Linked DNA regions of Homo sapiens: regions 2, 3, 4, 5, 6 and 7 are each linked to region 1. The links are contacts of gene promoters, found by promoter capture Hi-C in blood cells and fetal thymus (Javierre and others, 2016). All regions are on one chromosome and are shown on one strand. Each heading gives the region's core, a stretch centred on a gene start or on the middle of the fragment in contact. The rest is flanking DNA. Distances are from core to core; before and after follow the strand shown. Region 1 holds the start of WDR7 (WD repeat domain 7). Region 2 overlaps TCF4 (transcription factor 4). Region 3 overlaps TCF4 (transcription factor 4). Region 4 overlaps TCF4 (transcription factor 4). Region 5 overlaps TCF4 (transcription factor 4). Region 6 overlaps TCF4 (transcription factor 4). Region 7 overlaps TCF4 (transcription factor 4).

Evidence for each region. Contacts are between HindIII fragments. The CHiCAGO score rates a contact against its expected background, and 5 or more counts as called.
Region 2: a fragment that was not itself captured here is called in contact with the fragment with the promoter of WDR7 in region 1 in 3 of 17 cell types (monocytes, fetal thymus and total B cells); the score reaches 8.8 in monocytes.
Region 3: a contact is called between a fragment that was not itself captured here and the fragment with the promoter of WDR7 in region 1, in 4 of 17 cell types (monocytes, M1 macrophages, M0 macrophages and 1 more). The highest score is 18.1, in monocytes.
Region 4: a contact is called between a fragment that was not itself captured here and the fragment with the promoter of WDR7 in region 1, in 2 of 17 cell types (naive B cells and M0 macrophages). The highest score is 5.8, in naive B cells.
Region 5: a contact is called between a fragment that was not itself captured here and the fragment with the promoter of WDR7 in region 1, in 2 of 17 cell types (naive B cells and M2 macrophages). The highest score is 8.7, in naive B cells.
Region 6: a fragment that was not itself captured here is called in contact with the fragment with the promoter of WDR7 in region 1 in 1 of 17 cell types (erythroblasts); the score reaches 5.6 in erythroblasts.
Region 7: a contact is called between a fragment that was not itself captured here and the fragment with the promoter of WDR7 in region 1, in 1 of 17 cell types (monocytes). The highest score is 11.7, in monocytes.

Annotation. Positions count from the first base shown.
Region 1 is chr18:56,649,609-56,653,770 of GRCh38, forward strand. WDR7 (WD repeat domain 7) reads left to right here and starts at 1,751. Exons shown (of 28, transcript NM_015285.3): 1 at 1,751-1,968. RefSeq lists an enhancer at 1,482-1,871. The HindIII fragment of the contact is 1,105 bases long and covers 879-1,983 here.
Region 2 is chr18:55,312,567-55,316,728 of GRCh38, forward strand. All of the region lies in intron 8 of TCF4 (transcription factor 4), which reads right to left. Among named protein-coding and RNA genes, the nearest start is that of TCF4-AS1, 140 kb to the right of the region's middle. The HindIII fragment of the contact is 2,006 bases long and covers 1,484-3,489 here.
Region 3 is chr18:55,331,486-55,335,647 of GRCh38, forward strand. The region is part of intron 8 of TCF4 (transcription factor 4); the gene reads right to left. Among named protein-coding and RNA genes, the nearest start is that of TCF4-AS1, 120 kb to the right of the region's middle. The HindIII fragment of the contact is 8,028 bases long and covers 1-4,162 here.
Region 4 is chr18:55,351,982-55,356,143 of GRCh38, forward strand. All of the region lies in intron 6 of TCF4 (transcription factor 4), which reads right to left. Among named protein-coding and RNA genes, the nearest start is that of TCF4-AS1, 98 kb to the right of the region's middle. RefSeq lists enhancers at 1-832, 1-558. The HindIII fragment of the contact is 707 bases long and covers 1,895-2,601 here.
Region 5 is chr18:55,369,378-55,373,539 of GRCh38, forward strand. All of the region lies in intron 6 of TCF4 (transcription factor 4), which reads right to left. Among named protein-coding and RNA genes, the nearest start is that of TCF4-AS1, 81 kb to the right of the region's middle. The HindIII fragment of the contact is 568 bases long and covers 2,157-2,724 here.
Region 6 is chr18:55,402,567-55,406,728 of GRCh38, forward strand. TCF4 (transcription factor 4) reads right to left here. Exons shown (of 20, transcript NM_001083962.2): 6 at 888-952. Among named protein-coding and RNA genes, the nearest start is that of TCF4-AS1, 48 kb to the right of the region's middle. The HindIII fragment of the contact is 3,535 bases long and covers 153-3,687 here.
Region 7 is chr18:55,423,516-55,427,677 of GRCh38, forward strand. The region is part of intron 5 of TCF4 (transcription factor 4); the gene reads right to left. Among named protein-coding and RNA genes, the nearest start is that of TCF4-AS1, 27 kb to the right of the region's middle. RefSeq lists an enhancer at 1-333. The HindIII fragment of the contact is 719 bases long and covers 892-1,610 here.

The sequences.
Region 1 (4,162 bases), core at 501-3,000:
GGTGAAATTCCCGATTTTATCCTGTGGGTCTCATTTATGATTCTTTTGCAGTGATAACCATACATTTTTGGTTACAACAACAATGACGACATCTCACTTGTCTCCTTGCTTCCCTGTATTTCCCACCTGATTTACATGGCACATTGCTGCCAAATTAATATTTGTGGCTGGCCCATCTTAAGTGACCCCGATAAGTCACACTCTTGTATAATCCTTTCTCCTTGAGTACAGATAAAACCCGTGACTTACTTTAACCAATAATATATGGCAAAGGTGATGGCTGTCACTCCCTAATTTAGGTTATCATCTACATCCATTTCCATATCTATGTCCATGTCCATATCCATGGCTGTATCTATATCTGTGTGACTCCTTTCTTGTGCTCAGTAGAGAGATTCTCCTTGCTAGCTTTGAAGGAGTATGCTGCCATGTTGCGAGAGAGCCTTTAGTAAGGCCCATGTGGTAAGGAACTGTGGGTGGCTGCTAGGACCTGATGGCCACTTCCAGTTCAGAGCCAGTAAGAAGCCAGGGCCCCTAGTCAGACAGCCACAAGGAACTGAATGAGCTGACAGGAGTTTGGAATCAGATTCTTCCCTAGTTGAGCCTCCAGATGAGAATTGCAGTTTGGCTGACATCCACTTGTAGCCTTGTGAGAGCATGAGCACAGGACTCAGCTAACCTGTTCCTGACCTCCTTGCCCATGGAATGTGAGGCAATACATATGTGTTGCTTTAAGCCACTAAGACACTAAGACTGTGATAATTTGTTGTAAAGCAATTTTAAAAACCTGAATACCATGTGGTTAGGAAAAGTGCTACACTATTTATTAGTCAAAAGTCTTCAATTACTTTTCATTGTCTTTGGAATAAAGACCAAAAAGCTTATATGGCCACTAAAAGCCTCTTGTTATCTACATTATTCTATTTTTCCATGTTACTTTTTTATTACCTGGTCTAGGCCGAATGTGATGAAGTCTCTATCAACCCACAAGAGAGCTCCAGGGCATAGACTGCCTGTTAAAGGAGCCGCTCACGGAGCAGAAACAGCTAAGCCCTGATACCACATTTTCCCACTTCACCTACTTCACGTCCCTTGTATTTCTTCCAAATTTAACTTTCTATTTATTGCATATATTCATGTTTTACATTTCAATGCTGGTGACAAAGTTGTTTTCCTTTCCCAATTATTATTCCAAATCTGACCAATTTTTCTAGACTTCCATATGACCTAATGTGATTATCCTTCCTTACCCCAACCTAGAAATAATTCATCTCTTTTCTTCCTTGCTCCTTATTTGGCATTTCTCATCCTGCACTATACTATAGCTTATCTATCTTGGGGGACATTTGTCATTCTTTTTAGCTTTCCAGCATCCAACATACTTTCCAGTGTTTAGGGAATTCCCTACCTCTTGCATCTCAGTGGGAAGCAGTGTGATGGGGTCAGAAGTGTAAACTTGCGCAACATCCTGCTCCCAAGAAAGACGTGCACTTGCTACTTCATCCTTCGCTCCATCTTGGTCCTCCCAACTGGAGAGAGGACAGCCTAGACGAGACTTCCCACAACCAAGATGGCGGCCGTGCACTCCTTGCCCACAGCTGGCCTTTTCTCCACTTTCGGTCTCCATCGTAACGCGGCTGGCTCTCTCGGCGCCGGCTTAGGCCTTGCAAGTAGGGAAATGGTGAGTCTTTCCCGCCCCCTCATTTTTGCGACAGTTGCAGCGAAAGTCACGGCAGTTGGGGCTGGTGTCAGCTGATTTACTGCAGTGGCGGCGGCGGCGGCACCGGCACCTTGCAGTATCACTGGGGAGACGGCGGCTGTATAGCGCTTGCCGCCCCACGGATTATCCCAGCAGGATCTACGCACCCCGCATCCTCCGTAGTTCCGCCCTATCCTTGTCCTCCTTGGCTGGGGCGCCCACCGGCGGTCTGATAGGCTACATCGCGGCATGAGATGAAGCTGTGACAGGTAAGGGGGCTTTCAAGCTTCTCCATGGGAAACCACAGGGCGGGATGTTCCTGCACCGTGGAGGTCAGGGGTCAGGGGTCAAAGGTCACAAACCCGCTCTAGCCGGGGGCGGTGCTAGCTGTCAGATCGCTGCGGCTGCAAGCCTGCAGGTCGGGCCCAAAAGTAGGCGCCGTTACCAAGAGCGTGGGGGCCAGCCGGGGGTCTTTGTGGCTCCCTTGCCTGGTGAGTGATATTTGCTACTTGTGACAGTTGCTTTGGTCTTGAGGTGGGACTGCCTGGTTCCCAGGTGCAATCTAAACGGGATCAGGTGATTGGTGATGATCGTTGGTGGTTATTGACAGCAATTTTGGGCGATGTGCTTGCTTTTGGGGTTCATATAGTCTTTCCTTTCCTGTTGGTACTATTTTTGCCCATGCCCAAGGTACTGACACCACTGTTAGAATTTCATTTTTGAGATGCCATCTGCCAGTTCTTATCCCTTTGCCCTAGTACTTGTCTGAGCGGATGCCAGTCACTCCCATTCACTTAGTGATGGGTCCCAGCGTTCTGAAGCTATGTTTGAAGTCAGCACTACCCTAACTTTGATTCAAAAATTGCTGTTTTATGTTTTTTACCCACTTAGTATGTCACTTTTTGAGGCAGAATTTGCTGGGTTAGATAGTCTGAAACTAGGGAACCTACCGTCGCATGACAGGCTGCATTGATATTGTTGATGCTGCTGAATTTAGGGTTCGGTCAGTGGCAGCTATAGCTTCCTCTCACTGTAATATTTGCCATGAGACAAAAAAAGGCAAACTGACTCTTTCAGGTGTTTATGTCTTAGGATTTTATGGGCAAGGTTGCAGGAATTGCCTGTTGTATGAAAGAAATTAACTGAGTTTTTGACATTTTGTAAAACAAAAATTTTAGTTTGACTCTGCTTCTTGCTTTATAAACAAACTCGTGGCTGTATGAAGGTCAGCTTAAAAGTGAACATAATGTGTTGAAATGCCCTCATTATTACAAAGAATAAAAAACTGTCTAGTTCCATCCAGAACAATACATATTAGTTATTATAAATTGGGAAAACGAACCACTATAAATATAATTAATGCTTTATTATTAATGTCAATTAGGGATTATGGTAGAAAATTCATTTATTTTACTGCCAATCCTTATTTTAAGAGTGTTTCAGAGAAATACTTTAAGAGAAAAATGAGAGTATGCCCTTTATTTTTTCTTATTGCCACCTGTAACTAAATTTTAAAAGATCTCGGTGACTGGGTGAATCAAAGGGACTGGGCTTGGCTTGGTTTGAATATCCCTGTAAGAATTTAACTTAAATTTTAGGGGTAGTGACCCTTGTATCTTACAGTTTCCTTTTATCTTTGATATATGTTCCGTTTTGAAGTTAAAGGAAGTTGGGTGGTTTCTCCATGTAACACACTTAGCATCGAAAATCTTCAAAGTAGTGAGCTTGTTTTGTGTTTTCTTCGTGAGAGGGGTAGGATGACATTTAGCTTTAGTGGTGTGATGTTTATTAGATGTATGAGTCCTTAAAGTTCATTTTGGACCTCAGGTGCAGAGGATGGAGTTAATCTTACTCAATTCAATGGGCTGTTCAAGGCATCTCCCCTGCCTGCATTTTTCGTTCTTCTTTTTTTTTTTTAGATGGAGTTTCGCTCTTATTGCCCAGGCTGGAGTGCAGTGGCGTGATCTCAGCTCACTGCAACCTCCCCATCCCGGGCTCAAGCGATTCTCCTGCCTCAGCCTCCTGACTAGCTTGGGATTACAGACTGTGCCACCATGCCTGGCTAATTTTTGTATTTTTAGTACACATGGGGTTTCACCATGTTGGTCAGGCTGGTCTCGAACTCCTGACCTCAGGTGATCCACCAGCCTTGGCCTCCCAAAGTGCTGGGATTACAGGTGTGAGCCACCACATCCAGTCTCATTCATTGTTTTTTGTTTCTAATTCCCGCTGTTTTCTCTTGCTCATCAACCCATATGCAACCATTCTGTATGATGTGTATTCTTCTGTTTGTATGTGTTATTAAATGTATATTGTTCTGGGTGCCCACATTTTTAATTTATAGAGATGATATCGTGCAGTTTTTTTGTCTCACTATTATGTTTTGAAGATCTATTGCATTGCTGTTCTTTGCTTCCAAGTGCTGCACAATATTTCAGAATGTACATCTACTACAGTTTATCT
Region 2 (4,162 bases), core at 1,237-3,736, 1.3 Mb before region 1:
CATAATGATTCATGTAAGTCATCTTTCTTGGGGTTAATTAAGGAAACTGAATCCTAAATGATTTTATCAGCAAAAGTGACACTGTAAAGTTGGGCCAAGAGGATCTGCTATTACAGGAATCCTTTAAAATGTAAACGCTTTTAACAATCATGCATCTATTTCTAGCAGTTTTAGCTCATTCCCTGGAAGCATGCAAGAGGTGTGCTGCACTTTGCAACCTCTGGGAAGTAGGATTACCAGATTCACATCAACACATCTAATTTTACAGTTACCTTATTTAAGTTTTTAATACGGCACAGGTCTTTTTCTCAGGTGTTAATAGAAAAATCAATTTTAAGTCACAACAGCTGTGATCATTTTAAATATCACAGCTGTCATGAGTTGAAAATAACCAATTTGAGCATACAAGTTTCTGCTGCAAATGTAAGAAAGTGGAAATGTGATGGAATTTTATCTTTTACTCCCTCTGAAGCTGAATGTCTAATACAATAGTAGAGTAATAACTTATTGGCTTTAAAATAAAATCAGGCTCCCATTTCTTTACTGACCTAGCAAACAGATGGCTCAAAAGAACAGAGAAGAACATCATTTTTAAGATACACTCCTATGGCAACTGTGGAACATGTTTAATTATGGAAGTATTAACTCAGGAAAGAGTGAGTTAAATAGTTGATATCAAAATTGAGAGTTCATTTATGTAAACATTTTGTTGTGAAGCCGGGGGGAGATTAAGTGGGATCCATGCTACATATTAAGTGTTATTAAAATCTAGGAATTTAAATTATTACACAGGACAAAGTCTAAACTGATATGAGAATAGTGTTAACTAGTATCTTGCAGAAAATAATGGCATTGTATCTATTTCTTTGCAAACTCAAACTAGCCACTGGATGGCATGAAATAAAAGTTCCTCTCCCTTCCCCTTCAATCCAAATTTAATGTCATTACGTTTCAAAGACTATAATGACATTCCTAAAGAACTCAAAATTTAAAAAAGAAAAGGAAAGGACAGGGAAGGCATTATTTATTCTACTGGCTGAAGAAAGTTTAGATTTCTCTGTGTGAAATGAATTACGGACAATGAACACCCAAGAAATTCTAGAATTATAATAACAAACAATTATTGCCACCTATGCTCCAGGGGAGAGCCGGGCTCAAGTGTCTGAGAAATGATATTGCATGATTAATACAAGGAAGAACTCAACCAGAAGAAAAGTATAATCTTATACCAAAGCCTTGGTAATGTTACACAACTTTTTCAAAATGTTTTCAAGGTCTCCTAACATCCTGGCTGATATATAAGTAGAAAATAAAAATTTAAAGTATTTTCATCCCAGATCTTCAATCCTACTTCAATGAGTTTGACATTTCCCTCCCCCCCTTACAAATTCACAGAGTAGAGATAAAACGTTGGCGATATTTGCAACTAAACAACTTGTATGAAAAAAGTTGACACCAATCCCCACCCCATTTGGCTTAGGGAAGCTTAGTGCAGCAGGTAGAGGGAAGCCCTAATATCCCATATTATTTGCATATTAATTTCAAAGCGACATGAAAAACACTGTAGTCTTTTAATCACATCAACACACAAAAAGGCACTACAAAGTGAAACTACACTTGTTACACATTTATCCCAACCCCCACATCACACAAAGGAAGCCTAAGAAAACAGCATCCATCCAGCTCCTTTAATGCTGAGCCTCCACTTCTGTAATAACAGGTGCAGAAATAATAATGTGCTGGCCAATCAACTTTTTCCTCTGATTTGTCAGTTTAGCTTAATAATGCCATTAGGAATGTAAACATTTCTGCAATTTATATTTAAAAGTCAATAAAATAATGGGGTGCAGAATTTATCCTTTTTAATTTTTTAAGTAATACATTTGATTATTTTAATCACATCAGTACTTAACTGGATAGGGTTTAAATACGCATGTAACATCAATTTAATTTGTTTTATTCGTTAGAAAAGCTATTGAGTCATACAGTATTTATTCTCCTTAAAAAAAAAAAAAGACCACACATTCTAGGAGAAAGGGAGTACAGGGCACTTGTATCTTGCTTCCCTTCTTGGAGATGGGATTCTGGTGCCTTCCAAATGTCTTTCAGTAGGAGCATTTTAAAATGGTAACCAAAGAGGTGAAGATCCAATACACACACTAGATGGCTGACAATAAAAAAAAGGAGTGTTTCCATACTGTGGATAAACTTTATTGGGCTACAGTAATAGGACTGTGGTTGGTAAATGCATCAACTATTTTTAAAATGGTGTGAGTTTTTCCCAACATAGCAATTCCCACTTAAACAGGATCATTATTGGTGCAGTCATTCAGTACTCTATAATTCTCACCCTTAGGTTTGTGGAGGTGAAAAAGCCAAGTCAAATGTTAGCCTCCATTGTTAACATCCCCTATTCATTTTCAGGACAGCTACAATGGAAGCAGCTGGAATTCAACTCTCCCCACTCTCTCCCACCAATTACCTCAACATGCCCTCTCTCAAGATGAGTGTAATTTGGTCTCTAGGAAAGCACAGAGCTAGGTCCCTGGAGGATGCCAGCCAAAGCCTGCATTTTTTTTGGTTGAGCCTGAAATTAGACCATCATCTACACTGTTCCCACCTCTGACTTCTCAGGTGTTCAAACCCACTCTTTAGCCCCCCTTTTTTAGGTGGGGAGAACGGAGTTTAAAGTAGTATACTCTCCTAAACAGAATGTTAGAGGCGTAGTGTCTCTTTTAAATCTTTTTGGATTAAATACCTCAATGAATATGTGCAGATTTCTTTAAGAAATTAGGAAGAATAGGAAGAAAACTAGGTAAACAGAAGCAACACAGCATTTAGAGACAGAAATATCAGAAATGTGAACTCTTAAATTCTAATCAGAATGTGGTACTGTGCCATAAATACATCTGCAAATAAAAGGTTGTAGTTTGGAACCAAGTCATGGATCTTTAGCACTGCAAAAAGGAAAGTCTCCAAAGTTTAAGTGGAGTTCATGTATAATTCTCAAACCACTTTCAAGCTCAAAACCAGTAAATTTCACCTTAAGTATTCTTCAGAAGAAAAAAATTGTTTTGCTTAATAAAATGCCATGGTATCTATATACCTAAAATGATATGATAATGTGCCAAATAGTTTATTACAGAATTTGAAATGTTATAAAGCCTACAACTATGGACATTTTCTGAAAATTCCAAGTATAACTTTCAGTAGATCACTTCACACTAAAGGAGACAATTTTATACAAGTATCTTTTCCACTTTTGTCACTACTGATCTCTTTTTCCTGGTATACAAACAACTGCTTTTTTTTTAGGACTATGATGATTTCCTAAATAGATTATAAATGTTTTATGAATATACAGATATCCCTTTTTTTTAAGTAATCAATAATGTTTATCATATACAACTTTAGCCTGTGTCATCTTAGAGTTATGTTTGAAGTATTAAGGGCTAATAAAGTGCAATTAAACATATAAAAACTTGAAAAAGCTTAAAACTAAAATTACTTTTAAACTATGTTGACTGTGAAAGATTATTTATTTTGTAACTCTGATAATATTGGAGGGGGAAAAAAGGCCCAGTAATCTTTTATGTGTCCGCATACTGAAATTCTCACAGGTACAAGGCATGCATTTAGGTCAGCTGTGCAGAGCAAATATATGTCTCCACTGTATTTTCTTCTTAAGGCAAAAGTAAATCTGAATTCTAACAACTTTTACAATTGCCAGAACCACATCTAAAATCTCTAAATTTTCTGAATGAGTAAACAAGAGATTCATTTAATAGATCCCTGATGGCAGCATGTAGACCATGTATTTGACCTACAATAGTGATTCTAAAGAACTTAGACTGCAGCATTGTTTTTCTTAGTGGCAGAGCAGTAATAGAAGTTTCAAGTAGGCTTGGAAACACACACATACAAAATTCATATAATGAAATATGACAGTGTCTAAAATCCAACTATGATCAAGCCATTAAAAGATAAGTTATAAAGGAAGACATCACTTATTCTCAAGCCTCCATCGTGGTACTACAATTTAGTAGAAACAAAACAACAACAAAAAAAGCCGAACAGGGGATGTAATGCAAACCACATTTATAGTGGAACAGGAAACAAATGATTCTTCAGCACAATTTCCTGTAGATCAGTTGGAAAGGTA
Region 3 (4,162 bases), core at 491-2,990, 1.3 Mb before region 1:
AATCACACTTTGCTCATTGAGTGAATGAGGAACAAAAAGAGATTTATTTCCTTCCTTTCCACAACAACAGAAATCATCATGTCCACAGAGAAGAGAGTTTGTCGGAAAAACACGATAGCCAGCTGTAACTTCCATTTGAGAATAAGTCTTCATGAAATGGGAAAATGAGCATATTACTAGCCAACAATTTTCAATAGAGCTATATCTACTTTAGACTGATAAAACATGCACACAATATGAGGACCTGTTCCCCTAGTTTCCAAATGTTCTAATTATTATTTTTGATTTCATGAACCTGGTCTGTCCTTTACCTAGATTATAATCTGCTGAGGATCAGGGATGAACCAAATTTTATTTGCTGTCCTGGCAGAGAGTGTATTCAAAAACATATACAATTCACAGAAGAAGGGGGCGTGAGGGATCTAATTTACCTTCCTTTCTCTTGTATAGCGTGGCTACTCTCTCAATACAATAACTAATAATGCCAACAACATGCTAAAGGCATAAAGATGGACACATCTATTGTCACTTTTGAGAGGTGATACTGTTATGCCACTTATTATGTGTGATGCAGACTTCTGTTTGTTTCAAATGTTCTTTAATTTTTTTTGGCAAGTCATCTTTACTTATTTAATCTATATTCTACTTTGAACATTCAATTATAAACATTTTCTTAGAGGGACACCATATTCTATGGTTAAATATTATTTCCTGATGACGTAGAAGAAAACAAAGGGAAGAAACAGGTGCTTTCCATGTCATTTCCACATATTTAACTTCTTATTTGTTGTCCTTTCCAACACATTCCGTTTATCTAGATTTGAGGCAGTACAGAAAAAAAAAAACAGCTTAAAAAATTATTTTGTTGCATTGTTAACAGAAATATATGTTCATAACAAAGGACCTCAACAACAATTACAGTAAGCCAGGTGGCTGATTCCATCTGTATATCATATATTACACTGTTATCATGGACCACATGATTACATAATTTAGGATGCACTTGCTATCACTGTATTTTTAAGAGTCATATAAGCTCTGTGTTTATTAGTCTGCAAGGAGAATCAGTGGTACCAGACCCTTATAAAGCATTACAAAATGAACTCTGATTTGTACAACTACATGTGGCCATACACACTTCGGTGCAAATCTTTCCAATGGCAGAAACATTGGCCATTGCTGTCCACCTTCCAGGAGGCGTGGCACTTAGTAGGTGTGCTATAAATATTTGTGAATTTTTCAACCTCGAACTTTAAGCTGATTCAGTGCCAAGTGAGTGAAAACTTCTGACTCACGTCAGTGTTTCTTTCCCTTTGAGGAGATATAGACTCCATTTGACAATATGGTAGGAATTATACTCTGTATCACCAGTTACTTCTGTGATGTATACACTTGATGAATATAATTTTGTTGACTAGAATTCTAAGAGAAAGGCACTAAAGTTTTATAAAGGCCAATTTGAAATAAACTTAAGATCTAAATACACAGAAGCCCACATCTTTTATGAAACAAGCCTAATCGGTCAAGTCTACCAAAAAATTTACTAAATATATGTGAACAATTAAATAAAACCTTTCAACATTCTTAACAAAGAAATATTTTGTCTGAAAGCATATTCTAAAATAAGTTATCATTCTGGATGTTTTAACCTTTTTTTCTTAAGGTTTCCTAACTCATTGATATCAAAGAGACACCTGGTAGCAATGCTATAGTTAAGTATCTGTCTGGGTTTCCTTCATAATTCCTAATTTTCAGATACTTGTAAGGAAATTGCCAGAATCTTAAATGTGCTATACAGAGTTGTCTGTAAAGATGCAAATATCATTTCTTATTCTCCTTATATTCCTTTCTTTCTACAAAATTTCAAAACTGCTCAGTCATTTTGAATCATACAGTGTATAAAAATAGACTTTTAATACTTGAGATATTTTATCTCTATTGTCTATGGCACTTTCTCCCACCAGAAAAAAAAAACAAAACAAAACAGAAAAACAAACAAAAAAAACCCTCAACTCACCTCCGCATTCCCCAATATATCTTAATTTCTTTGAATAAAATGCAGGTGCTTCATTTCAAATGGGGTCCAAAGACTGACATTTAAAGCTAACATCTTAATAAGTGGCTATGATGCTTAACATGTTGGCATTCACAGCACTTCCACTTGCCCCATGTAAGTAAAATTGGGCCATACCACCCTACTGTGTATTACATCTAATCTGGATTCTGTAATCTCAATTGCGATTATCCCTTTTGTTGTTTTCAAGACTGCAAGTTCACAGTGAAGTTGAAAGGCAGGACGAGGTTTATTTTATAGTGAATATTGTTTTTGCTCTCTGTTGTTGAGTTTGAAGCACAGCTGTGCAAAGTAGTTTCAATGAACCAAGGAATGGTCCCAGAACAACCAGCTCAGAACTTTGCCCTGAGTTCACAAACTATAGGCTACATGATAATTATATAAACTCCTCCAGAACTGTGACCCCTTTCATGAATTTTTAGCTGGATCTGTCTCAAGTAGTATTGATTTACATTGATCTCAAGGGTATTTTTTTTTCTCTGATTTTTACCCAATTTACACAGCAATGAACAAGGACTCAGCCTAATTTCATTTTCTATGCAGTAACTAGTGTTATTTGCATTCCATAAATGAAATGGAATGTGGGGACACAGACTAAACTGCTAATTCAAATAAAACCATAATATTAAGAGCATTATCTTTTATAAAAGAAACACAGTTTTATTTAGTAAAAGCATTATTCTTAATAGTAAAAACAATAAAACATCCTAAGCCATACTCTACATGTCTTAAAATACCCCGAAATAACTTTTATAAATAACATATAAGTCTTGTATTTATAATTAAGTGTGCACAGTAAATGCACTCTTTAGGTATAGTCCAATAAATTATAGGAGAAAAAATTCTGCCATAGTTTCTAATCAAAATCTCCAATTGCATAATTCCAAGATAAAAATGAACCTTAATTTAAAGCATTAAAAACTCTGAGCTAAGACCCCCAGCTTAGAAAAGACATTCCTTTCAAAAAAAAAGAAAACAGCATAACCTCTTACCTACTTAAAATTTATTCTAAATAGGAGTCAGTGCCTTCACCTTTCTAGAAATGAGAGTATATGCTTCAAAATAATAATTCAAAAATAAAATAAGTGATACCAGTAATTTGGGTTGTCAAGTTGAATTAATAAATTATTACTGGGCCAACCTGGAACCAAAATTATCAATCGTTCAAAATAATTCATAGTCTGTTCTAGGAAACATCTTAATCCTAGCTTAGAGAAAAGTCACTGCTCAGGAACACCTTTCTTCAGTGACTAAGAAGCTCAGAGGCACTCAATTTCTAATGTCAAAGATACCCATTTAAATGGCTTAATATCTAAACATATCCTGACAAATTATTCAGATCTTACTTTTCAAATGTGAGAGCAAAGGGAAAGTTTGGCAAATTGGTACTATGTTTTAAATTTAATCATAAAATCAATTCTTGGGAATTGCAAATAATGTCTTAGAAGTCAGCTGAGGACCAGATTTGGCCACTGAATGCTCTGTGACGCTCTTGCTGAAAGACAAGAACAGAACACACACATTCAAGCAGGAAGTGTGCCGGCCACAATCATGGGACTCACACCCAGGGAAACCTGTCCTTAATTTATCCCGTCGTGTGTAGATTTGGCAAGGATCTCCAAATATCATTTACATACCATATGCCCTGAATTACCTAGGCACAATGGCTGTGGATAAATATGTTTCAGGTCTGACTGTTTGCTTCCTTTTATAAGTTTTGCAGCTTTCATTTCATTTTTCACATTGCTAAATAATTTAATGTAATATTGCGTGTTGTAAAAGAATGTTGTGTTAAATCAATAAATAGTTCATTGTGTCCTGTGATAAGCAAATAAATGCTCCTGAGGTAGGTGACCAGGAGACATTATTTCTCCTATGAAAGAATCAAAGAAGGGAAATCAGCTGTTTATGCTTTCAACTCATTTTAACCTTTGCCTTTTTACTAGGCATATAAATGCAGGCATTCAAAAATAAAGAAGACAGAAATCATACAGTCTGACTTATGTGAAACATACAGAACCGGTCAGCAAGTTTTCATGTCTAAAAAAGACCCCTGAAAATCTATTCTTGGTCATTCTTGTATTTGTT
Region 4 (4,162 bases), core at 998-3,497, 1.3 Mb before region 1:
TGACTGAACTAATTACTGTCCTTGATAAAGTACAGAATGTGTTTTCCCTAATCTAAATTCTAATCACCATGTCACTCACAACAGACTTAGGGATGCTTCACTAACACACTATTCACATGCAAAATACTCTAAATAGGCCAATTATGACTCTGCCCCTGTTCCCTGGTTAACCCGCTGAGAACTGAAAAATTTCACAAGGCAGTCACCAACTAAAACAAAGGGTCCTTGTTTTAAATTAAGACAGTCTTTTTGATTCCTAAATAGCTCAACAAAGTGGCATGTCTTCTAGTGAAAGCAGTTGGTCAAATATGACCCATAAGCTGGAAAATCAAAAATTCAAACCTCCCCTTTCCACCGCCATATAGCTAAATATCATAAAGAGAACCTCTCTATTCCAAGGGGTTTTTCTGAGTGTTGGATGAGTCATATATAAAGGACTAATCAGCTACTGACAAGCTCGCCTTTACTGATTCCAGTTTAAGACTTTTTCAAGAGATATGTAATAAACATTACTTCAAAATACAACTTCAAGGATGAGATTTCAGATTGAAAGCACATTTTGAGTAATAAACTCATTGCTAGTATCTTAATGTTTACCACATAAATACCTGATAAAACCAGATTTATCAGATAAAAATCTGACATCTGCATGCTCAACTATTGCCTCTTTTGAACTTATGAGACATATTAAAACACTACACAATGACAAACTAAAACATAAGGCTTATTATAATAAAGTTTTGCATAAATCAGAAATCTAGTAACAAATAATTTATCATTTAGGAGTGGCATTCAAAAGTTTTTGAATCTCAACCTAAATTTCACTCTTCGCATTTCTTATTAACAAAGAAAGTTACAGTGAAGTCTGTGTCCAAGTTTTCTTTGAAATTTCCATCAATAAAGCTGTGAATGATTTGAAATCACAACCTCCTTACAGTTTGGTAAATCTACGAATGAGTCTTCATTTCATTGGAAAGAGGAGTTTGAAAATAACTTTGTATTCTAGACACAAATCACCCCTATTTCTTCATTTTTCTTTCTCTAGAAGTATATTAAATATTCAGAAAACGGCTAAGCAAATATGTTGAAATGCTTGCTTGTGTTTTTAAATGAGTTTAACCATTGGTTAATTCCTCTTGGTCCTGGTGGCAAAGGTTTTCACTCTCAAGAAATTAAATGCATTCAAGGGGTCAACCTAAAAACACACACTTGCTATACTGTCTTTTAGCAGCATTCACAATAGAGCTGTGAAAAATATAAAATAACTACAAAACAGCTACAGGCTGTGGTTGACCTTATTGTTGTTAACTTAAAAGAAAATAATTTCATGGGCCAGTCATAATAAATCACGCATCCAACTCTTACATATGCAGGCGCAAGGACTATGTGCAGTAACATAGCACTAGGACCAGATAGCACTTACAAACCTTTAGTGGTTCCTGTTAATCTTTATTTTTTTCACAAAGCACATTCCTGTTTCTTTCTCCTTAGACCTGTTTGTTCCTATTTCTTTCTCACTTGGACAATAGAATCATTCTTCTAAAGCAACAAAAATAAACATTTCCTCACATTTAAGGGGGCCCTAAACACCTCCTTAGGGAAAATGAAGATAAAAATATATGTGTTCTTATTGTAGAGTATACTTATAAAGCGAACAATGACCATTTACTATTGTCTGGCCTTTACGTCAGATACTTAACTCTCTGTAGCAATGAGAAAGATAAATTTTCCACTGGCTGAAAAACCTGAGTTTATGAATTTTAAAAAGTGAATGGCGTTTGATTTAAAGTAAATTAAATTTTGCACAAAATGGATAAGGTATTTGTTTATATTATGAATTTACCTGCATATATAGATATAGCTCTGAAGACAAGTTTCTGCTTAATAAAAGTTAAGCTTGAAAACTACATCTACTTTCAAAATGGGCAAATTCATCCTGGCCTTAAATAGGATTATAATGGTTTTAGGTTTTTCACATTGTGCAAGCTCATGTTCTGCGGTTATGCTGGGTCCCAGTAGTAGGCTGCCCGAATCTGCCAGGAAACACTGGAGGCAGATGTGGCATCTGGCAGAGCTAACCTGTAAATCTTAAACCCATAGTTTAGCATTTTGCTTAACTGTCCACAGTGTGATGAGACAAGCCCTTCCCCTTACTCGCTCCTAATTTTTTTTCCCAAAAGACCTAAAATACTGTAACCAAAGAATAAAACACACTGACTTTATCAACCAGGTTGGAATGTTTTGGGGTTCACCCTCTGCAGCCAATTCCCCTGCAAATGGCCATTCCTAACTTGGCCATTCAAATCCCCAAATACAGCACTCTGTGAGTGTCTTTTTCAATTAAAATTTTGTTGTTTGTTTTACATCGGATTTGTTTGTTTTACATCAGATATAGGTCTCAGAATGTCTTTCGAACACATTCTCAACCCTGCCCCCATTCCTTTTCAGGGGAGCTTCTTAACAGCCTTGATCAACCACTGAACTTTGCTTATACAACCAAGAAAGCAAACCATGAATTAAACTTGAGTAACAGAAAAGCAGCATATATCTCAAATTAGATTTATAACTGAATGGTAATCAAAAATAGAACTCACTGCTTGAAGCTTAAATTATCAACTTTTTTCTAGTTAAACTAAAATCATCTTGCTCTGAACTATTATTTCATTTCAGTCAGCACTTTAAATGTAATGGGTGGGTGGTACATTTCTAAAAAGGAAGATTATATTTACACTTAATTATAGATATGACTGAGATCAGAGTACGATGAATACTGCTTTTTTGGCTTATAATTAATGCATCTAATAGGTGAATGACCTTGAATTTCAGAGTTGGAAACTGGAAGAGGGGAAAAAAGAAGTAGGAGAAAGAAAATCTCTGGAGAAAAGCAAATGTGCCCCTGGTTTCTCAGGGCTTTCTCGATTCTGCGTCACTCCCATTACGTTGTGATCCGGTATCAGACACAACATCTTGGGGGGATGTTGCAGAACAGAGAAAAGCAGTCTCAGATGAAACCAGATTAAGCTCTTTTTCTGAACTATTGCCAAATGCTTGTGAGTCTAATTCATGTTTGGGTATTCTAGTACTCACACAGCTGCAATTCCATTCTTTCATCACAAACCTAAGTGATGTATAGTGGCTTTGTATGGTGAACTGACTCTATAAAGCCAGGATTTTTTAAAATGTTAATATGGAAAAAAATTCTGAACCACTATAAAACTTATGAATGCAAAATATATGTGTAGGTATCTACCAGACTTTGTGGCATTAAATGCAAAATACACATTGAGTGAAATTACAAGTTAGATTTGTTTAAAATACCTTTTATCACAACCTAGGTCATTTCTACATAGCTAATTCTGCACAGAATCGGGTTTTCAAAGACACTGCTGAATAAGATTCCTAACAGCCATGGGGAAGTTTCTGTAAATCCCTGTCGAATAGTTGCTGCTGAATGTGCCATTCTGACCACAGAAGGGCCATTGCTGACTTACTACAGTAGCAGGAGGGGGGCGATAATTTTGCTGCTGTTGGCACTTACTCTGCAACCTAGAATATATCTCGCACCAAAGGGCAATGAAGAACACAGTATTTCCACCTGTCCACTTTTGAACTTCAAAGCTCAAAATTGAAGGTCAGTCTTTGGACAGTCTTCTTTCCTGATTCCTGAAGGTCCAAGAGTACACCTTTATAATTTATTTTTATTTCTGTCCTATGCTTGGTTTCAACAAAAGAGGACTTGGGTAACTTACAAAGACCAAGATATCTTGCAAATCAGGGACTTAAAAAACTGCTGTGCTGCAGAGAAATACAAATTACTGAAATTATTATTTAGCAAACATTTTTAAAGGTTTTTTGTCAGTGTTTTTTATTTCTACATTAAACATATCATGCACATTGTGTCTGTAACAAGTCAGAAGTAGAAGTCAAATCTATTAAGGAAAGAGGGAGGGCTTTAAGGTCAGACCAATCTGGTTGAACCTTAGCTCAAAGAAATACAGACAATGTATTTGGGGGTGAGTTATGCAACTGCTCTAAACCATACTTTCTTCCCGTGTAAAAAGGGACTAATAAGAGCTCTATCATAGGGTTATCAGGAATAGATGAAACAACATATGTAAAATGTTCCGCAGAGCCAGGGTCCAGCACAGAGCTTACCTCTTTC
Region 5 (4,162 bases), core at 1,191-3,690, 1.3 Mb before region 1:
CCAGACTGAAGGTCAAGCAGATGGTCAGAGAAAGAACCAGAAGTCCCACTTGATTTGAGGACAAGGCTACAAATGTGTCCCTTTGGCCCCTGTGCCACAATGCCAGTTTCCTTTTCAAGTTAGAGGCGAAAGTGGCTGAGGTCCATGAAAGAGGATCAGGTAGCACATGACAGTCCTTGCAAGGAAATACACATTCCCCACAAGCACATCAAGATAACCAACTTCATACACTCTCCCTGTGAATTCATGCTGCCCTCACACCTGCACAGGTGCTCATCAGGAAATTTTAAAATATTTAAATATTCTAATTTTGGCATTAAGACAAAAAAAGTTGTTGGGGGGCGCAGATATCAGCAGCTGTATTTTTTAAGCTGACATAAATAAAAATGTATTCATTAAATGTTTATAAACGTCAAAATTCAGTAGCTTACTAAACCGGGTTCTTTAGCTACTGCTGAAATATCAGCTTGTCAATCTGCAGAAAGGAGCTGGGCATTTTTAGCTTTCAATTAAAAAGTGAACATCAGAGTTTTATTTGTGTGTGTGTGTGTGTGTGTGTTTGAAAATGCATTCTGCAATAGATCAAAGGGAAGCTGCCACTGCCTCCAACACTAGTCTCAGGTACCAGCCTGGCCATCCCATCGTGGAGGGCAGGCCTTCATAGCTGGAAGGCTGCAATAGCTTTACCCACAACCAGCACAGTCTGACCCCAATCTCAATATTACGTTAAAAAGAGAAGGCCGGGCGCAATGGCTCATGCCTGTAATCCCGGCACTTTGCGGGGCTGAGGCAGGAGGATCGCTTGAGCCCAGGAGTTTGAAAGCAGCCTAAGCAGCACAGCAAGACTCAGTCTCTACAGAAAATAAAATAGAAAAAAAATTAGCCAGGTATGGTGGTGCACACCTGTGGTCCCAGCTACTTAGGAGGCTGAGGTGAGAGGATCACTTGAGTCTGGGAGGTCAAGGGGACGGTAAGCTCTGATTGCACCACTGCTCCAGCCTGGGCTCAGTACATAGGTAGGTAGGTAGGTATGTAGATAGATAGACAGATGATAGATAGATAGATAGATAGATAGATAGATAGATAGATAGATAGATAGACAGACATATAGACAGATAGATGTAACATAGAAACACTCAATTGACTGAACAAAACTACAAAGAGCTTAAGTGAGCACCTTAGCCAGTCCTCCTAATTCAAAATGGGCCGCTCACCATGGCGATGTTTTTCTCAGAACAAGAACTTTAGGATGCTCAGACTGTACATATAGTGCAAATGACAACTCTCCCCCCCAAAATTAGAGTGCAGTGATCTAATGAGGCCTCAAAGCATGAAAAAAAGGATGAAAGCATCTCCTTAGATAGGAATAAAATCAATTTGCACAAAAAAGAGACCAACTAAAAAGGTGTGGGGGTGAGGCCACGAAAATATTAACTAAGAGCCAGTTAGTAAGTAGGGAAATAATGAACAGAGAACAGGAGAGGGAGAAGGAAGTGAAGTAGGTATGAGTTAAACTGTAAAATGTGTTTCCTTTACAAAGTTTTTGAGAATGTTTTATACTATGCTATATACTTGTGTGGGGGGAAATGTTATTTTTCTTATAACTTTTGCATTGAATTGAGACATTTCAAGTGACCTGCCCTGATTCAAACCTGAATGTCTAATATAATTCCAAATGAACATGTCATGTAGAAAGGCTGTATCAAAGCTTAGACATATATGGTGTGACTAGCTATTTTGGTATTATTGAGGTCTCTGGAGGTATTTTTATTCCTCCTCCACTTTGGCCACTGTATGCTTCTTAATACCTCCTCCAGGAGGCAGCCAGTTATACCTCTTCATTAGTTTGTGATACTTGGTCTTGGTAGAAACATGATCAGAGGGCAGGAAAGAGTTTGAAAAAAGAGGCTAAAATAATCTGGATGAGGGGGCCATAGGGCCAGTAGGAGTCTTGCCTGTCGGGAGTCAGAGGAACCTGGGATCCAAGCCTCCTTAGACAAGACACTTAACTCCCCACAGCCTTGGCCCCTTCATTTGTGGACAGGAGACATTCACTGTACCTACTCAAAGAGATGCTTGGAGAAATAAAGAAATCATGCCTGTGGAGACTATCACATATGTTAGTACAAAAGGAGTGCTTCGGTGAGAGCCAAGGAAGCTTTGTTTGTTCATTCACTTATTTTTTTTTAAGTGCCAACCAGGGACCAGGAACTTTACTAGATACCAAGAGCACAGCAGTCAACTCATGCCTACATTTACAGCATGGATTTTAATCAATGACAACACTTCCGCTGGGAAACACTCCTCAACACTTCCACTGGGAAGTCTGACATAGAGACGCCTCTCCCCAGGTTCCTCTGCACCTAGCACGTGTCTCAAACATGCATGGAACTGAAATCCACCCTATGCTGAAATTATTGTCACAAGTCTCTATTGTTACCCACTTGCTTCCACTCTCAGCTGTGAGGTCCTGGAAGCTGGGGTTTTGTGTCTCTGGCACTGAGGGCTGCTTATACATAGCAGATGATGCAAATTTAGCCAATGGATTAATGGAGAAATAAATGAAAGAATAAATAAATAAAATGACTTATAACCTCTCAGTTTTCTAATTTATAAAAGGAGAATAATAGCATCTCCTTCCTTATAAGGTACTGTATTTGAAAGCATTTAGAATGTGTAAAGTTCCATATAAAGGGGTTGGCTTGGGATGGTAGATTAAACATAAGCTTCTACTTTTCCTCTAACCTCATATGTCATAAATGATACTGGGTGTGTGTGTATGTGTGTGTGTGAATTTAGAAGAGATATACATGCCAAATAGTGCCAGAAAATAAGGAAGAGTAGCTTCGGTGGAATAACAATTTTGAATTATTCTTAAAGATAAAAGTAGATGGATTTGCTCTACAGAGGAAAAATAAATAAATCACAAGCCAAAAAGCAGCAGCCAATCAAGAAGACTGCAAAGAAACAGCTAAATCTAGGATGCTCCAATCCCAGGGTCAATACATACATGGAGCTGGAGTGGAGTGTGATGCAATAATCGGGTGATTAATTGGGGTGCTACATTTAGAGCTGCAAGGCAAGCCAGAACAAAAATGTGACAGAAAAAGGGGATACAAGACTTTAAAACTCAAATTTTATATGTAGCCAAACTTGCCTTCAAAAAGGTGAGCTAACTACAGGCAATTTAGAAAATGCAAAGACTCTGAAAATTTATACCCCCACACTTCTGAAAAAAATTACATAAGGATATATAACTGTATAATGACAAATCAACCCAAAAAAACCCAGAACAACATGGTCCACAAAAATTAGCAAGATGGGGCAAGGAAACGCTAGTAGACTCTATGTGACTGTTGATGCAATTTAAAACGTCAAAAAGGAAACATATCAACCTCAACATGAGAGGTAAAGGGGAGGAACAAAGGGAGAAACTCAGTAATTAAAAATGTGCTAACACTCTCCGTCATCTTTTTTAGGAAAGATACAGACACCAAACAGATTTAGACTTTAATAGAGATATATAATTTGAAATATGTGAGTTAGAAAGGCAAGAATAACTTTCACAAGAAATAAGATGTATAATTCCTGCACCATTAGAAAAAAAAAGACCTTTTTTTAAGCAGCAAAAAATATAAAACAAAGGAAATGTGATCAAGCCAAGGAAAAAAAGAAAATTAAACTATGTTTATTTGGATATTATATTCCTCAACTAAGTTACAGTGGCTGTCACATTAGGCTAGAAAAATGTAAAGCTAAATGCTGTGTATAACAAACCATCAAAAATAAAACACAGAGACTATGAAAAATAAAAATATATAAAAAATATGTAATATAAAATCTACAAAAATAAAGCATGTAGAGAACATTACTATACATTGAAAGCCAATCTAAGGCAAAAATGTAAAAAAAGAAAAAAGTTGGATATTTCATACTGATGAAACCTATAGTCCACCAAAAATATAAAATATTCCTGAACTTCTAATCATTTATGATACAGCTTTGAGATATATTTTTTAAAATATAAATACCCTGAGCGGTTGGTAAATCCATAATCAAAGTAGAAGACTAGAACAAATATCTCTCAGAAATTTAAATCAATTAGAAGGACAATAAGTAATAAAAGGTTTAATATATTAAAATAGGGAAAATAGGCCGGGTG
Region 6 (4,162 bases), core at 670-3,169, 1.2 Mb before region 1:
ATTAAATTCCATCAAGAGTTTTCCAAAGTAAGAAACCAATGCACTTATAAAAAGGAAGTATAAATTTTTAAAAAAGATTTTAAATACATGATTAATACTGATACTGAACTGAAAAAGAAAGCATCTATAAAAACTCAGTTGTCTTGAAACAAAGCTTATACTTTTAGCTATTGACAGTATTTTTAGAAATAGGCTCTCTCTGGAGAGTTTAAAGTATACAAATGCAAAGTGCCCAGAGACACAAACACACACATGCTATACCTTTGTATTACACTGGCATTTTATTATTTAATTAAAGTACTCTTATTTTTCTAGCTCACGCATGCTTCCCTTGAGACGGCTTTGCTGTTAGCCTGCTGGCCTTGACTTCCAGCCAAAAACAATTCAGAAACAAAAAGGGACAACAAATCATATTTTCACAGACATTTTTATCCCTCAATACAACCCTGTTTTCACACAACATCATACAGCCCCTATGAAAACTATAATTTAGGGCAATAGCCACCCGAAACCCAGGGTCTGACACATGACTCCGCGAAGTATTTCCTGCGTAAGAAATTCTTAAGTTCTTAATTGCAAATAAACTCTTTTAATAGAACCACTTTCACCGACATTGCTGGTTTGCAAACAGTGCCACTGGTACCGGCTGATGGATTAAAAAATAAAAACAAGCCCATGAATGTAGTTCTGATACAGCAGCGATCTAAAGATGAGGTGTTTATTAGTTCTAAGCTCTGTGTTATTTCATTACTTAAAGAGAGAGCCATCATCTGACTTGCCGGTGCATCTTTGGTGTCACAGTTTAAAATGCATCATCTAATTTAGAAAACAAACTGATTTACCAGGTTAATCCTCTCAACCCTTCCGCAACAGAGATTCTCACTTACCTGGTGGCAACCCTGTAAGTTTGATTCTCTCCCATAAGATGAGTATGAGCCCCTTTCTGTTTTACCTGCCAAGAGAAACGACAAAAAAGTGTAAATTGTGTTTTTCCTTAAAAAAAAATCTCCTCCAGGTAACAGACATCTACTGCTCTTCCCCGATGTTTACATACGTAAAGTAGGCACTACTGGCAATGTATGCAAGCAAGAGAGGGAATAACACTTCCTCACTCTGGCTATGATAAACTGGAAAAAAATATCCTTCATTCCTATTCTTAGCCAAACTGCTCCACACTTCCAAAAACTGTCATTCCAATGGCCTCCACTTTCTCTAACAAACAAATCGTAACTCCTTATTTTCACTTTCTCTTGCACAAAATTTAAACAATTTCATTTTTATTTACACAGCAGGCAAATTATCTATGTAATGACCCTAGCCTAGTAATTCCCATTGATTATATTGACACTTAATAGTGAGGCCAAAACTAATCAATCACAGGCTCTCCAGATGGTGAATTTAGCAAAGAAACTATTCAAAATTCTGAGTCTCTCTCTCTCTCTCTTTTTTAAAAACTCCCTTTCCCAGGAGTGAACCCCATCATGATCAAGATGATGATGGAATTTACATTTGGGAAACAGGGCTTTTGAAAAATTGCCTACTCTGAACCCAAGTTCAGATTCCACCAATAGACCCAGCAGGACAAGGGATCATGGAATGTGAATGTCTTGTTCCAATTCTAACAACCCAATTTTTATCTGTAGACTGCTCTACAGAGATCTATAGACCCTTCGATGCTATTCGGCCACATCTAAGAATAAAATCAAGGGTGTTCATTTGTTTCTTTTTAAAGTTTAACCCCAATAATCATTAGGGAGGATAATGAAATCACATTACAAGAGATCTAAGCAGTAGAGTCCAGATAGTGACATGTGGAGAATCATTGTAGAAATCTGTCCATACCAGAACATTAAAAGGGGCTAAAAGAGGCAGGCAGGTGCCTAAGACCCCACCCCACGCAAGTCTAAAGGATACTTCTTTCGTCAAGACTGGAGCTTTACAGTAATTGTACTTGATACATAGGACTACAGTATTCCTTTTTCCAACAGGAAAACTCTAAACTTGTATTTTGAGAGGCTGAATAGATTTCCTTCTGAAGTTTACAACCCCCAAGTTTTCCCCTCTCAACTCAACACGAATGCTAAAAGTAACAGTAGTCTTTTTATCTTTTAGGTCAATGGCAATGGCAATGTTATTAGAGTATGCCTTCCTGACCCCACACAAAGAATGTATCTTTGATACATTTATATCCATAAATTTTTCTATGTGGTCAAAAGGGTATCCTGTATCCAAGTCATTACATATATAAAATGGATGGTGGTTTTCAAAGAAAGCCAAACCTAAGTCTTAAAATTAACCCCGTTTCCCAGTATTAACTTTTCTACTGATTTTAATGAATCTTAAAGTTGGGAAAACACCTCCGCCCCATTTCTGGTCTAGCGCTCAGCGCAAAGTATAAAATCAATGCCCCATATCAGTTTCAATTTCAGTGAAACAAGACACCATCGCACAGACTGTCAGTCTTAGAAGATCTAACAGAATAACTTCCATTGTATGAGGATTTTGCACTGAAGAAAAGATAAATTTATACTTGTATCAGCAGTGTGAATGGTCACAAAGACATATTTACTCATCTGTGTACATCAAATTTAAGCTACTTATACCCTTTAACTTCTCTCTATAAATATTACTAACAGAAAAGGCTCGACCTTCATGAGCTATCAAAGGACGCGTGTCCTTCCTTAAGCTCTTGCATCTAAGAATGCTTCAATATCACCATTACATCACTTACTTTGATGTAATATTCACTTGTTTAACAGGTAGATAGGCAGGCAGGAAGCTGGGCAGGTAAGGAGGCAGGCAGAAAGACAGAAAGATGGATAAAGTAGAATCTGCTCTGACTTCCTAAGAAACTGAACATCTAGTGTCCTGTTTTGGTAATTTCTAAAAATCCAAATTGTAAAATACAGTTTAAGGAAGAAAAAGCATCTATTTTTTTCTCTAGAAGGAATTCCTGAAGCTATCCCCTGTAGAATTTCACCACTCAGCATTATTTCCCAACTTGACTCCAACACACAGAACAGGAGGGAGGAATCTTTCTGCCAGGATTTGCCTCACTTATAGATATAAGTTGGGCTACTCCTTCCATTATTTTAAAGATAAAAGGGCAGGATTTTAAAAGGAGAGAGAGAATAAGTAGGAGAAAAACAAAGAGAGGAAGAGTGGAATGCAAAGAGCAAGAGGTAGGAAAAGAAAGAGGCAGGAGGGAGAGGAGGAGGAGAAGAATATGAATTCACGCTGCAGAGTCCCCAAAGTACTCTTGGCTACATGGAACCCAGCATTCTTTACTATCATATCAGATACAGACTGCTTAATCTTAATTTTGCTTGTTAAAAAATATTTATCCAGATACAAAAATAAACCCACTGCAAATTACAAGTTGTCAGGGTTAAAAATCTACTCCTGTTTGTGTGGGGGAGGATAAGAGACCAGCATAGACATGAATCATTCTCAGTAATTTGAGTGTTTCCATGACATCAATGGGCACCCGTCCAGGGCTCTGTCGAAGTCTGCGAGGTACCAAAGAGGCAGCACAGCCAGCAGGAGGCTGGGAGGTGGACTTTTTTTTTTTTTTTTTTTTTTTAAGGATTATGCTCCTTGTAAAGATTTCATCTGTAGCATCCACTTTTACCATCAAATAGATCGGTCCAGAGATCATGAACAAACACATTTCATTCTGATAGTGTAAGCTTTTAACTTTATTACATCTTTTTGTTCCCCAATTCAACTATAAATCTGCCCTCAGAGCCAGAACCCCTGTTTGGGAGCAAAATAATCAGGCACTGTGGATAAAGCCCACGCACCTTCTCAAACATAAAATCGCGATTCCTATCATTTTTTTTAAAGACTAAAAGCAGCCATTTTAAAAGGACACCTCAGTTTCTAGAAAAGAAACTATCTTTTGTGTAAATTATCCATTAAAAATTAGCTATGGTCTTGATGTTGATTTTCTGCTTAAAATTCACTTGGAACATTTGTTTCAGATAATAAAATTTTCAAGAGCGCTGATAACATGTTTGAGTAGGATCCTTAAGTAACTATCTGTGCTCATGAACACAAAAGCTCTTAAATATCTGTGTTTACTCTATGTCAGGCATGGATTTTTGTCACTTATACCAACTGGCTGGCGCGGACAGCCTCTTTCCTCCTTTCTCCATTCTTC
Region 7 (4,162 bases), core at 1-2,500, 1.2 Mb before region 1:
TACCTACTTGACCACTTTTTTGAGCTAAAGTGTAAGTGAAGATGACAAAACATAGCTCATCCTCTCTCAGCCTCTGGGAACGGTGTTTATAAGTAAAAAAAGAAAAACAACACAGAGCAGATGGGACCATTACACATGACCAAACCAATCAATCACAGATGAAGGGCCCAGGTGCAGCGCAGCCGTGCAACAACGCACCATTTCACAGTCTGTCAGACACACACACACGGTCGTCCATGAGTGACCCTCCTCAGCTCCCCCCGGACCTCATCTGGGGCGCTGCGCCCCTCTCGCCTGCCTACACTCCAACTGACGTCTTCATAATCGCCCTGTCTTTCTATCTGCTTTGGCTCCTGTAAAGAGAGGAGGATGGAAGGGGTGGTGACTGGGCGGAAGGGGGGATGGGAGGGGAGATGAGGACAGGGGCTCACATCATTGTCACTTATGAGGAGTCCGGTCTTCCTCCTTCTGCCATCCCCATGGCCCCTCCCTCTCCAACCACCATCAGAATCGCTTTTCTAACCATCATTACGCTCATTAATTTTTAAGGGTGACTGCTTGGCTGCGGCACCCCAACTGTCTGCCATTAGAAATAGAAATTTTGTGTGTGAGTTTCTTGCCTGTGAGGAAAAAAGATGTGTGTCACTCGACAAAGTCATGATTAGATGGAAATGTTAGAAATTAATTAATTGGAAGTGGGTAGGAAGACTTTTCTTAGCCCCCTCCAGATTAGTTAACATGAGACTCTAGTTACCCACAAGCTTCCAAGGAATCAGCTCTGTCTCAAGATTTTGTGTCTTAAAGAAATTCCACAGCCTTTGGCATCCTATATCACAAACTCATCCAGGAATCACTGAACCCAAATGAAATTGTACATTTGTAAGGGTCACAAGCTTACACTGGCAACATAACTGAAACACCAACTTAAACACAAAGTTAGGGACAGGCTCCCTGCTTTAAACTCAGAATTCCTAACTCACAGCCTAACTTTCTATGGCTTGCAGCTTTCCTTTCTTTAAAACAAAACAAACAAAAAGCACAAAAATATCAAACAACAACTAAGGGGGGAGCAGAGAAAGACAGTAACCAATAGAATCAAAAGGATAATACACAGCACTGAGGCCCACCTACCCCATTTGAAAAAAAACTTCATCACACCACATCAGAAAAAAGCAGATTGGTTTTATTGATCCAATGAATTATTTAATCATGTCTTCTTCCTTAAGTCTAGGTAATTTATAACAGTTTTTGAGATCTTTTGATACAGTACAAATATTATAAAGAATCAACTATATTTACTCAAAATATTGAAAATGGATACTTTCCCCAGCTTTAGGAGATGCCTGCTCATCCGAAGAGTGATTGAATGTTCTCGACAATTTATAATTTATTTTGCCTATTTAGAGATGAGAAGGAGTTTAGGAAAGCACTCAAACCCTCCAAAGAACAACTATATGACTGCAAAATAGCTTAAAGGATTTATGTCCCAAAATGCTCATGACATTTTAGGCATTACTGAAAATTTACACTAAGAACAAGAAAAAGTTTAATCAAAATAGACCACACAATCCAGCCACTTTAAGGATTAAGTCAAGTTGTCATTTATGTGAAGCTTCATGTAATGGTGGAAAAAATGAAATAGAGTACAGGCTAAGTTGGGTGAGAAAGTGTCCTACCTAAAATCTGCATGCCATTCCATTTACAGGCAAAGGCAATTTTACACAACACTAGGCAGATTGGATTCGTTGAAATGAAAGCTTTGTCTCTTAGCATGGGCCCTATCATCAATTCAAACATATTTTCAGAATGGTTTGATGATGCACTTGTTTTTGGCTTTTTTTTTTTCTTTTGAGGATTCAGTATGCTTCCCCCAGCTCTTCACCAATGAATTTGTCCTTTGGAAACTTTTAAGTATTGAATGAATCTTTCCATTCCCCAATGGATCCTATAATTTTTATGCTTAGTCCTTGTTAGCAAGGAACCTCATATCTGAAGTCAAGGAAAAAAAAAAACAGAAAACATATTAACATCTTCCATAGCTATGTAGGAAGGGATCACCTTGTGTTTTGAATGAGTATATCTTTTCCTCAAGGAACAGACTCTACACATTTGCATTAATAAATTTCTATTTTCAAGCTCAATAGAAATTGCAGTACAAAAAGCAGATGTGTACGTTGGGCTCTTTCAAATTAAATTTCCAAAAGCAGAGCCTATTCTAGCTCAAGATCAAAGGAACTAAAACACGATCTCCTCCCCCTTCCAATATAATTACAGAGATTTCATTTCTTTTGTTACAATGAGCACAACAGGTAAATCTTAAACCTGAGGGATAATGATCAGGTGCTACAGCTCAGCTTTGCTGGGTGGCTCAATCGCTCTGCTCAGTGCCCCTGCTGTTTAAACTACCACTCTACAGGAAGATGGGAAATGCCTAGTGCTCTACTTTATTCTTGGAGATTTGTTTCCTTTTCCACATCAAGACTACGCAGAATAGCTCTGAGATGGATACAACCCATTTTACAGCAGACTTGTTTCTAAAGAAGGGACATGTCCATCCTAAAACACAAACCAAGACAAAAAATTTTATATATATATATATATATACACACACACACACACATATATTTTCATACGTGTCTTTTATTGGTAGGCTACCTAAAAACCCTTTTGGAAGGATATGGGGTATAAATAATAAATAAGTGAGAACTGACATGGTTGTGAAATGTCATATCCTGGCAGTCCTATAAAAGGACAAGACCCTAGGGAGGCAGAAGAAAGAGATGCAGCCACAGATCATCCAAAACTGAGGTTCCACAGAAAATCTGTTCCACTTCAGAATGATTAGCATCATCTACTTCTTTGGGGAAGACAGGTGAAGAGAGAACCAAATTTAAGTCAATACCCACAAAAAGAGTGAACTTTGGGCAAGCACACCCTCTAGGCTTAAACATCCTTGAGAGCAACTGCATTCTACATTTGTATTTCCATCTCCCTTTTAAAATTCCTGGTACCTCATTTCATCCTTTGCTGCCCATAGGCATCTGTTCCCCTCTAATTATTTGCCATTTAGAAAAACTCTGCTTAAATTCCTTGTGCATCTGTCCCTTGCTTAGTGTATATTTGTGATGTTTCAATATGGTGCTTGATTTTAGAGCAGCCTTGCATGTAAGTACAAAAACTTTTCCAACCCAGAAAAATATTTCAATACCCTCTCCCCTAAAGAGTATGCACAAATTAAACACTACCAGTATTTTATAAAATAAATATGTACTTCTATATATATCATACTAATATACAAACATATACAAACACAGACACACAAAGACACAAACACAGACACACAAAGACACACACACACACTCCTCAAAGCTTCTAGTGTGTCTACCAACCAGTGTCATCACAGTATAAATTCCAGTAACAATGTTCTTTCCCAAAATACAGTCTTTTACTTTTAAGGAGCTAAGGTTTCCTAGCTCCTGAATTATTTTTTGGTCATAGATGAAATAAAACACTATTTTGCATGAAGATATCATTTCAAGGATATCTACCTCTTGAGAATATAAGGGGGAAAAAAACTTTAAAAACCAGACAGTTCAATAGCATCAAAAACCCCAAATCCAACAGGTTTAATTATTTCCTATATCTCTTCTACACACCCTTCCTTCTCCTTGCCCATTCCTTCATTCTTCCAGCTTCTTTTCCCTTTTCCATACTCCATTCCTTAAAGAAGAGGTACTGGATGAGGGGAAAACATTGGAAGGGGAGCCTGGAAATATGGCTTCTAAATTTCAGTTCTGCCAATAGCTAGCTGTATGAGTGTCCATTTTCTCATCTGAATTAGAGTAAATGATTCCTCAGCTCCCTTGAGAAATAGTTACTATTAACTACATTAATAATAAGAATAATGATTTTCCCCGTGCCAAACACTTTGCAGTGTAGTGAGATGATTAGCAAAGTGGATCTGAGAGTCAAACCGCCTGGGTTTGAATCCTAGCTCCAAACATCATCCCTGTTTCCAATGAACTGAGAACCCTGGCAAGTTACTAAATATCTTGATGCCTCCATCTTCTCATCAATGAAATAGGACTAGGAATAACATCTACATCATGCTATTGTTGTGAGGAACAAATAAGTGAAGACACTGAACGCCCTCAACATTTGT